Regions from separate parts of the Homo sapiens genome. Here all the other regions are linked to region 1. The links are contacts of gene promoters, found by promoter capture Hi-C in human tissues and cell types (Jung and others, 2019). All regions are on one chromosome and are shown on one strand. Each heading gives the region's core, a stretch centred on a gene start or on the middle of the fragment in contact. The rest is flanking DNA. Distances are from core to core; before and after follow the strand shown.

What was found. The method cuts DNA at HindIII sites, captures the fragments that hold promoters and counts their contacts. A contact is called where the count stands out against the background at its distance.
Region 2: a fragment that was not itself captured here is called in contact with the fragment with the promoter of FTCD in region 1 in 2 of the 25 tissues and cell types used here (mesenchymal stem cells and mesendoderm cells).
Region 3: a fragment that was not itself captured here is called in contact with the fragment with the promoter of FTCD in region 1 in 1 of the 25 tissues and cell types used here (lymphoblastoid cells).

The regions. Positions count from the first base shown.
Region 1 is chr21:46,154,278-46,156,884 of GRCh38, reverse strand. FTCD (formimidoyltransferase cyclodeaminase) reads left to right here and starts at 1,306. Exons shown (of 14, transcript NM_206965.2): 1 at 1,306-1,415; 2 at 2,553-2,607. The coding sequence starts at 1,362. RefSeq lists enhancers at 1,533-2,236, 2,237-2,607. The HindIII fragment of the contact is 26,017 bases long and covers 1-2,607 here.
Region 2 is chr21:46,391,622-46,394,228 of GRCh38, reverse strand. The region is part of intron 21 of PCNT (pericentrin); the gene reads right to left. Among named protein-coding and RNA genes, the nearest start is that of DIP2A, 66 kb to the left of the region's middle. The HindIII fragment of the contact is 4,353 bases long and covers 1-2,607 here.
Region 3 is chr21:46,290,403-46,293,009 of GRCh38, reverse strand. It overlaps YBEY (ybeY metalloendoribonuclease), which reads right to left. Exons shown (of 5, transcript NM_001314025.2): 3 at 1,548-1,676. Among named protein-coding and RNA genes, the nearest start is that of YBEY, 5.4 kb to the right of the region's middle. The HindIII fragment of the contact is 7,396 bases long and covers 1-2,607 here.

The DNA.
Region 1 (2,607 bases), core at 57-2,556:
TCGGATCTCGTGAGACCATTCACTATCACAAAAACAGCACCGGAAAAAGCCGCCCCCGTGATTCAGTGACCTCCCACCGGGTCCCTCCCATGACGTGGGAACTATGGGCTCTACAATTCAAGATGAGATTTAGGTGGGGACACAGCCAAACCATATCACCATGTCTACCAAAAATGGAAAAGTTAGCCAGTGTAGTGGTGTGTGCCTGTGGCCCAGATGCTCAGGAGGCTAAGGTGAAAGGACCTCTTGAGCCTGGGGACCAAGGCTGCAGGAAGCCATGATTGTGCCGCTGCACTCCAGCCTGGCTGACAGAGTGAGACTTTGTCTCAAAAAAAAAAAAAAGAGAAAATGATAAAAGCACTGCAAGTGGGCAGCGGCTGAACGTGGAGACAGGAGTTCTCCCTTCTGAGCACGGCCCTGGTGCCGCTGACTTCGTGGGGAGCCTGTAGTCAGGGGAGCAGCAGCTGGGGAGAGCTGGGGTCTCAGCTGCCTTCCCCCATATCGCACATGCCCGTCTCGTGTGTATCTGCACTCTCACACGCGTGTTCCCCTGCCCTGCGCTCACATGTATCTGCACTCACTCTCACATGCTTGCTTCCCCTGCCCCATGCTCACGTGTACCTGCACTCTCACACGTGTGCTCCCCTACCCCACACTCACATGTATCCTCGCTCACTCTCACACGTGTTCCCCTGTCCTGTGCTCACATGTATCCACGCTCTCACACATGTGCTCCCCTGCCTTGTGCTCACGTGTATCTGCACTCTCACGTGTTCCCCTGCCCTGCCCTCACGTGTATCCTCACTCACTCTCACACGCGTGCTCCCCTGCACTCTCCTGTCTGAGCTGAGCTGACCTCAGTTGGGTGCTGCGAGCCAGGGCCTCATGCTGGCCTCTCGCCCTCCACAGCCCCAGGGGTCCAGGCTCCTCCAGGAACAAACGCAGGCCCCACGGGCTGCCTGGAAGGCCTCCCAGAAGGCAGCACAGGGTCACGAGGGTCACCCGCAGTGGCACAGGGAGGCCTCGTCACGACAGGATTCCAGCCAGGCTGGCCTGATGCTCCTGGGGGTCCTCGGCACATGCCCCTTCACCCTGGCATGTGCTTCTTTTCCGGGAACCCACACTCTGGCTGAGTGGAGCCATCCCCTCTGGGTCAACAGCACCCGGGGTGGCTCTGCAGCACCCCACTCCGCGGCTGCACAGGGACCTTGGCCCCACTGCTCCTTGTGCCTTGCTGGTTAATGAGAAGCCGGTGGGGAGGTGCTGCCGGTGAGCGTATAAAGGCCCTGGCGGCGGCTGCGGAGCACTGGCCCTGTCCTTCCATCTGCCCAGAGAGGAGCATCTGGATCAAGGTGCTGGCCATGTCCCAGCTGGTGGAATGCGTCCCCAACTTTTCGGAGGGGAAGAACCAGGAGGTGAGGCCCGAGGAGCTGGTCAAGCATCTAGGGCTGATGGGGCAGCTTGAGTGGCTAAGGCCCAGGCCATGGAGGAGGTGGTGGGCTTGGTGTCCCGGGTCGTCTTCCCAGGATGGGCAGAGCCGCTGCCCGTGGGCCCCAAGGACATCCCGTGGCTCAGGGCCCTGGGGAGTGCCTGACCCAGGGGTGGGTGGAACACGACTGGTGCTTGTGGGGGCTGAGGCTTGGCTGTGGCTTCAGGGGCCTTTCGGGTGCTTTCGGTGGGGGGTTGGGCAGATCTCTGGGCCTCAAAGGGCCTTGGTGCTCCCCCCTGAAAATGGGGCTCCTGCCACTGACTGAAAGGGCTGTGTGAGGCCACACGAGGTGGCCCAGCATGGTCCCCACTGCCGCCTCTCCATCTCCACTGGAGTTAGCTTGCTGAGCCCCCACCCTGCAGCCACCATCCTCACTGGACCCAAAACGAAGTAGGCACAGAGGGGGCAGCAGGCCCCCAGGTCCGGCCTCTCGCCTTCCACAGCCCTGAGGTCCAGGCTCCTCCGGGAACAAACGCAGGCCCTAAGGGCCACCTGGAAGGCCTCCCAGAGCGCAGCACCAGGCCACAGGGGTCACCCGCAGGGGTGCAGGGAGGCCTCGTCATGCCGGGATTCCAGCCAGCACCAAGGCCCTGGGACAGGGCAAGATTTGGGGCTGAGCCCCTGCTCCCAGCAGTCCTGCCACCCGGAAGGTTCTAGGCCCTTCAGGCCCCTCCCCCATGCTGGTGATCTGTCCCTCCCCTGCTCGGGGGTGGGGGTCCCGGCCCCTCTGTGACCTGCGCCTGTGGTCACCTTCTTGGATCCCCGGCCACGTCTCTGGCATCTGTCTGTCGGAGCAGAGCCCGTGAGTCTCTCCTGGAGGCACCACCTGCAGCCCCTTGTGGGGACTGTGCTTGGGCTGGAGTGACTGTGGCTGCTGTGAGGGTTCCCGGGCGGCCGCTGTGTGCGGGCACTTTCGGTGGGAGCTCAGCTTGTCGGAGAGCCCCCAAAGGCTTGGCCCGCCTCCTCAGCCCCCATTTGTGTCTCGGGGTGCAGCCACCTCCAAGCTCCTTTTCCTTCTTTCAAACGGGGAGACTGAGGTGTGGGGGCCGGGCCTGTGTCCCAGGTGATCGACGCCATCTCTGGAGCCATCACACAGACCCCGGGCTGCGTGCTGCTGG
Region 2 (2,607 bases), core at 33-2,532, 240 kb before region 1:
ACGGCGAGGCAGGGCCGCTGCACACCAGGGCCGGGTTCACGCCACCGTCAGAGCCTAGGCCCTGCCGGGAGAGTGGTCAGGGCCGGTAGCTGGCGCAGAGTCACACAACCGCAGAGCCAGGGTGAAAGGAAAGAAAACAAACCAGAGTGAGAAACTAGGGCAGGGTTAACCATGTCGAAAGGAAAGCAAACAAAGAGGACCCCAGAGAAACAACGAGAATTTCCCAGTGACAAAGTTGGCCCGAGCCTGCGAAAGGGCTCCATGAGATCCACTCCCGGCATGCCAGGCGCCTGCCACTGCAAGGCCCATGGTAAGCCTCAGCTTCAATCCTGGGGCCTGCAGGGAGCCCAGCCAGGCTATGGACACCCAGGGCCCACATCCACCTGTCACGACACTCCCTGGTGGGCCAGGCTTTGTGGCAGGAGATGAACCAGAGGCAAGGCAGCAGACGGGCCACCACAGCCTTGGGAAGAAGCCCTGCAGTGCTCAGACCCACGTGCTCAGGCCCAGGGCACGACACAGGCACCTGACACGGGGGCGCTAGCCACAGGGCCCCGGCCTCACCGGGCCGTTCAACAGAATGCAGGCCACACACCCCTTTATCTGCCCGGAGGCCTGACAAACGAAGTGACTGGCTGAAGTCCAAGGGCTCGAGGTGATGAAACACCAGGTGGTCTCCCCCGGCGGGGTGTGGCCCAGCGCCGGCTGGCTGGGCGCGAAGACACTGGAAATGGGGCAGCAGAGTCTACAGGGAGGGGCCCGACCATGAGGCTGCCCCCGGACAGCAGAGGACAAGCAGAGAAAGCATCGGAGAAACAGCGACAACGGACGCCCAGATGCAACAGCACCGCCAGGGCAAAGATGCTGAGAGCGATGCAGGACGTCAGAGACGTTCCTGAAAACACCCTGAAAAATCCTGAGGAGATGCAGGAAAACGAGGGCGTCAAAGGAAAAGAAACAGGATCTCGAGTCATGTCTCCAGCACCACTTCACTGGTGGAGGAAGGGACCTGAAGAGACTCCAGGCCCTCCTGGCCCTGGAGGTTCCCCCGCACTCCCCCTGTGGACACACAGAGTGCGGGGGCAACAGGGCTTAGAGGCCCGTGGGGAGATGACGCCGCCCTGAGCCCGGCAGCAGGCAACACCGCAGTGAGGACTTCACAGCTGGCCAAGGAAAATCCACCCCCGAGCAAGGGCCCAACGCCAGGAGGTGCGGCAAATAAAACTTGGCTAAATGACTAAAAGAAGATACTCACAGACAGGCTTTTAAAAAACAGTCATGAATATGGTATCCATACAAGGCACAACTAAAACAGAGTATTAAAAAAGACTTAAAATAAAAGGACAAGAAAAGATACACGAGGGGAAAAACACCAGGCTAATCCTTCAGCATCAGAAATTTATATAAAAAATAGAACGGGATAAACGAGAATGACAGAAATGAACCAAGAAAAGGAGAGGACAAAGTGTGGGCACAGTCATAGGCAGAGTTTAAAACATCCCGTGGGACCAATGTCTTCCACCCTGGAAAACGCCCCCTGGGCCAAAGAATTATAAGCTTGTGGGACCCAGATGTCAACACGAGCACCACAGGTGGAAAGGCTGGGGCACCACGAGGAGGCACGACCTGAACCCCACATCCTGTGAAAGGCAGCAAACATGTCCAAAAGCGTCCAACCCAACGAAGGCAGTGAGAAACCATAGGAGCTGGCCGGGCATGGTGGCTCACGCCTGCGATCCCAGCACTATGGGAGGCCGAGGCAGGCAGATCACTTGAGGTCAGGAGTTCGAGACCAGGCTGGCTAACATGGTGAAACCCCATCTCTACCAAAAACATAAAAAATTAGCCAGGTGTGGTGGTGCTCACCTGTAATCCCAGCTACTTGGGAGGCTGAGGCAGGAGAATCACTTGAACCCAGGAGGCGGAGGTTGCAGTGAACTGAGATCACGCCACTACACTCCAGCCTGGGGACACAGCGAGACTCCATCTCAAAAAAAACAAAAACAAAAACAAAACCATAGGAACAAGGAATCACACGAACAAGGGCAAAAATCAGCAAGACAGAAGACAGCAAATGAGAATGGCCACAAAAATCAAAAGCTGGTTGTTTTCTAAAGAGAAAAATGTAAAAAAATAATAATAATAATAAATGAGACTTCTGAATTGGCTGAGGTGGTGCCTGCGATGCCCAAGCTTCTAACTCCAATCTGTGTTCTGAAGGGATGACCCCGAGGCCACGGCCATCCTGGAAGGAACTTTTAGAGAAGCGCAGGCCCCTCTGCCTCCCACGTGCCTGAGATGCACGAATGCAATGTGAAAAGCCTTTGCTCGAGCTGAACCAGCTACTGAGGACGCAGCTCCCTGCAGGCTCGACATTTTAAACTTATGTTTTGACAGTTTTCATTTTAAATACCTTTGAGACTAAAATATCTAAAAATCTGAAAAGATACAAACTAATATTGTTAACACTATGTTTTCCTAATGAGGGTTAATATCAGGCACTTGGTTATTTTAAATGAAATTTTAAAGTAGCTCTTGTTTGCCGCACTCGGCTCTGCCTCCAGCTGCTGCTGTTGGACTCAGAGCCCCTCTTATTTCCACCTCACA
Region 3 (2,607 bases), core at 38-2,537, 140 kb before region 1:
TTTAACTTGTGTGGCTGTCCCCACTGAGTCCCGGGCACGGGTCAGGCTAACCGCGGGAGGAATTTAATCTAGAGTCTAACTTGTGTGGCTGTCCCCACTGAGTCCCGGGCACGGGTCAGGCTAACCGCGGGAGGAATTTAATCTAGAGTTTAACTTGCGTGGCTGACTCCACTGAGTCCCGGGCACGGGTCAGGCTAACCGCGGGAGGAATTTAATCTAGAGTTTAACTTGTGTGGCTGACTCCACTGAGTCCCGGGCACGGGTCAGGCTAACCGCGGGAGGAATTTAATCTAGAGTCTAACTTGCGTGGCTGTCCCCACTGAGTCCCGGGCACGGGTCAGGCTAACCGCGGGAGGAATTTAATCTAGAGTTTAACTTGCGTGGCTGTCCCCACTGAGTCCCGGGCACGGGTCAGGCTAACCGCGGGAGGAATTTAATCTAGAGTTTAACTTGCGTGGCTGTCCCCACTCAGTCCCGGGCACAGGCCAAGCTAACCACGGGAGGAATTTAATCTAGAGTTTAACTTTAAATCAAGAATAGTAATCATCCCTCCCTAAAACGAATCCCCTCCTTGCTCAAGACCGAAGCCACCTCTGTGAAGCTTGTGAAGGGCCACAAGATTAGGATGATGGGAGGGGCCTGAATTCTGCTCAGATGTAGGTGTCCTGAGGAGAACCAGCCCGCAGGCCTTGCTTCCCCAGCTTGCCCTGCTGTAATTCCCTACTGCTCAGGACTCACGCAGCCAGAGGTCACGAGATTTGTGACCGCCCCAATTGCTCCCCAATAAGATAACGTCAATAGTACAACCTAAGAATGGTCTTTTGGGATGTTTTTCAGACTTTTGAGTTCTGGCAACCTACAGACTCCACCTGGACCTGAGACTCATGACTCAGCTGATCCCGTGGCTCCACGCAGAGGCGGACTCAGGGGACAAAAATCGTTGACACCCCATGGTCCGTCTGCAGCCGATCAGCAGCAGGCATTCCCTAGCCCCTGCCTGCCAAATTGCCTGTAGAAACTGTAGCCTCTGAGTTCTCTGGGAGATTGAGTTGAATAATAACTCCAGCCTTTCTGCTTGGCTAGCTCTGTGTTAAACTCTTTCTCTACTGCAATACCACAATTGCAGTGAATTGGTTTTGTCTGTGCAGTGGGCAGGAAGAACCCATAGGTGGATTACACTGAGGAGAAACAGATCTGGAAGGTGGTGGAGGCTCCAACTTCTGTACTTCTGGCAGCTCAGAAAGAAGCTGATTCAGCAGGTCTGTGTTAGCTCAACATAGTCTGCTCTACTCCAGAGATAAAAGCTGAGAAGGCTTCTCTGGGAGCTTCTGTGTTTTCACAGCGTGTTCTCTCCCTCCTTCAACTGTGGCATGGGGCATGCAGTCCCTACCCAGCCTGGGTGCTCCTCACACCCTGCTTACAGGTTCTTCCCCCAGTAGCCCTTACGGTACCCACGGACACACATGGATGCAGGGTTGTGATCTTGACCCCTTTGCAAGGCCCATGTTCCATGAGCCAGGTTATATGATTTCAGCATCCCCGCTTACAGTCAGGACGTCATTGTAATCTTCATTTTCTTTACACTGATGGAAGATATACTCCACTCCTAGGAAAATGTCTCCCAAATTGTAGTCATCTGGAAAATCAGGCTGGGGAAATTCACCTGCTTTCAGATGCTAAAAAATGAGGAAATGTAGACTTAGAGAACAGGAAACGTAACCCAACCACAGGTTGACAGGTTTCATCCTGGTTAATCCCAAGGCAAATAAGCACTTATCTCTGAGCCAAATCACTTTTTTTTTTTTTTTTTTTGAGACGGAGTTTCACTCTTGTTGCCCAGGCTGCAGTGGAATGGCGCGATCTCGGCTCACTGCAACCTCTGCCTCCCGGGTTCAAGTGATTCTCCTGTCTCAGCCTCCTGAGTAGCTGGGATTACAGGTGCATGCCACCGTGCCCAGCTAATTTTTGTATTTCTTTTTTTTTTTTTTTTCCTGAGACAGAGTTTCCCTCTTGTTGCCCAGGCTGGAGTGTCCGCCTCCTGGGTTCAAGCAATTCTCCTGCCTCAGCCTCCCGAGTAGCTGGGACTACAGGCATGCGCCACCACGCCCGGCTAATTTTGTATTTTTAGTAGAGACTGGGTTTCTCCGTGTTGGTCAGGCTGGTCTCAAACTCCCAACCTCAGGTGATCCACCCGCCTTGGCCTCCGAAAGTGCTGGGATTACAGGCGTGAGCCACCGCGTCTGGCCTAATTTTTGTATTTTTTAGTAGAGATGGGGTTTCATCATATGGGTCAGGCTGGTCTCGAACTCCTGACCTCAGGTGATCTGCCTGCCTCAGCCTCCCAGAGTGCTGGGATTACAGGCGTGAGCCACTGTGCCAGCCACCCAAATCACTCTTAAGATGCATGTCTCAGGCCAGAGTGGCAGCTGGGCCTGTGGCGGGTGGGTTGCCCAGCCAACCGTACACAAGTGCCCTAAATTGTTTCCATTGTGAAAATTGTCAGAATAGCCAGGCGTGGTGGCTCACAGCTGTAATCCCAGCACTTTGGGAGGCCGAGGCGGGCAGATCAAGAGGTCAGGGGTTTGACACCAGCCTGACCAACATGGT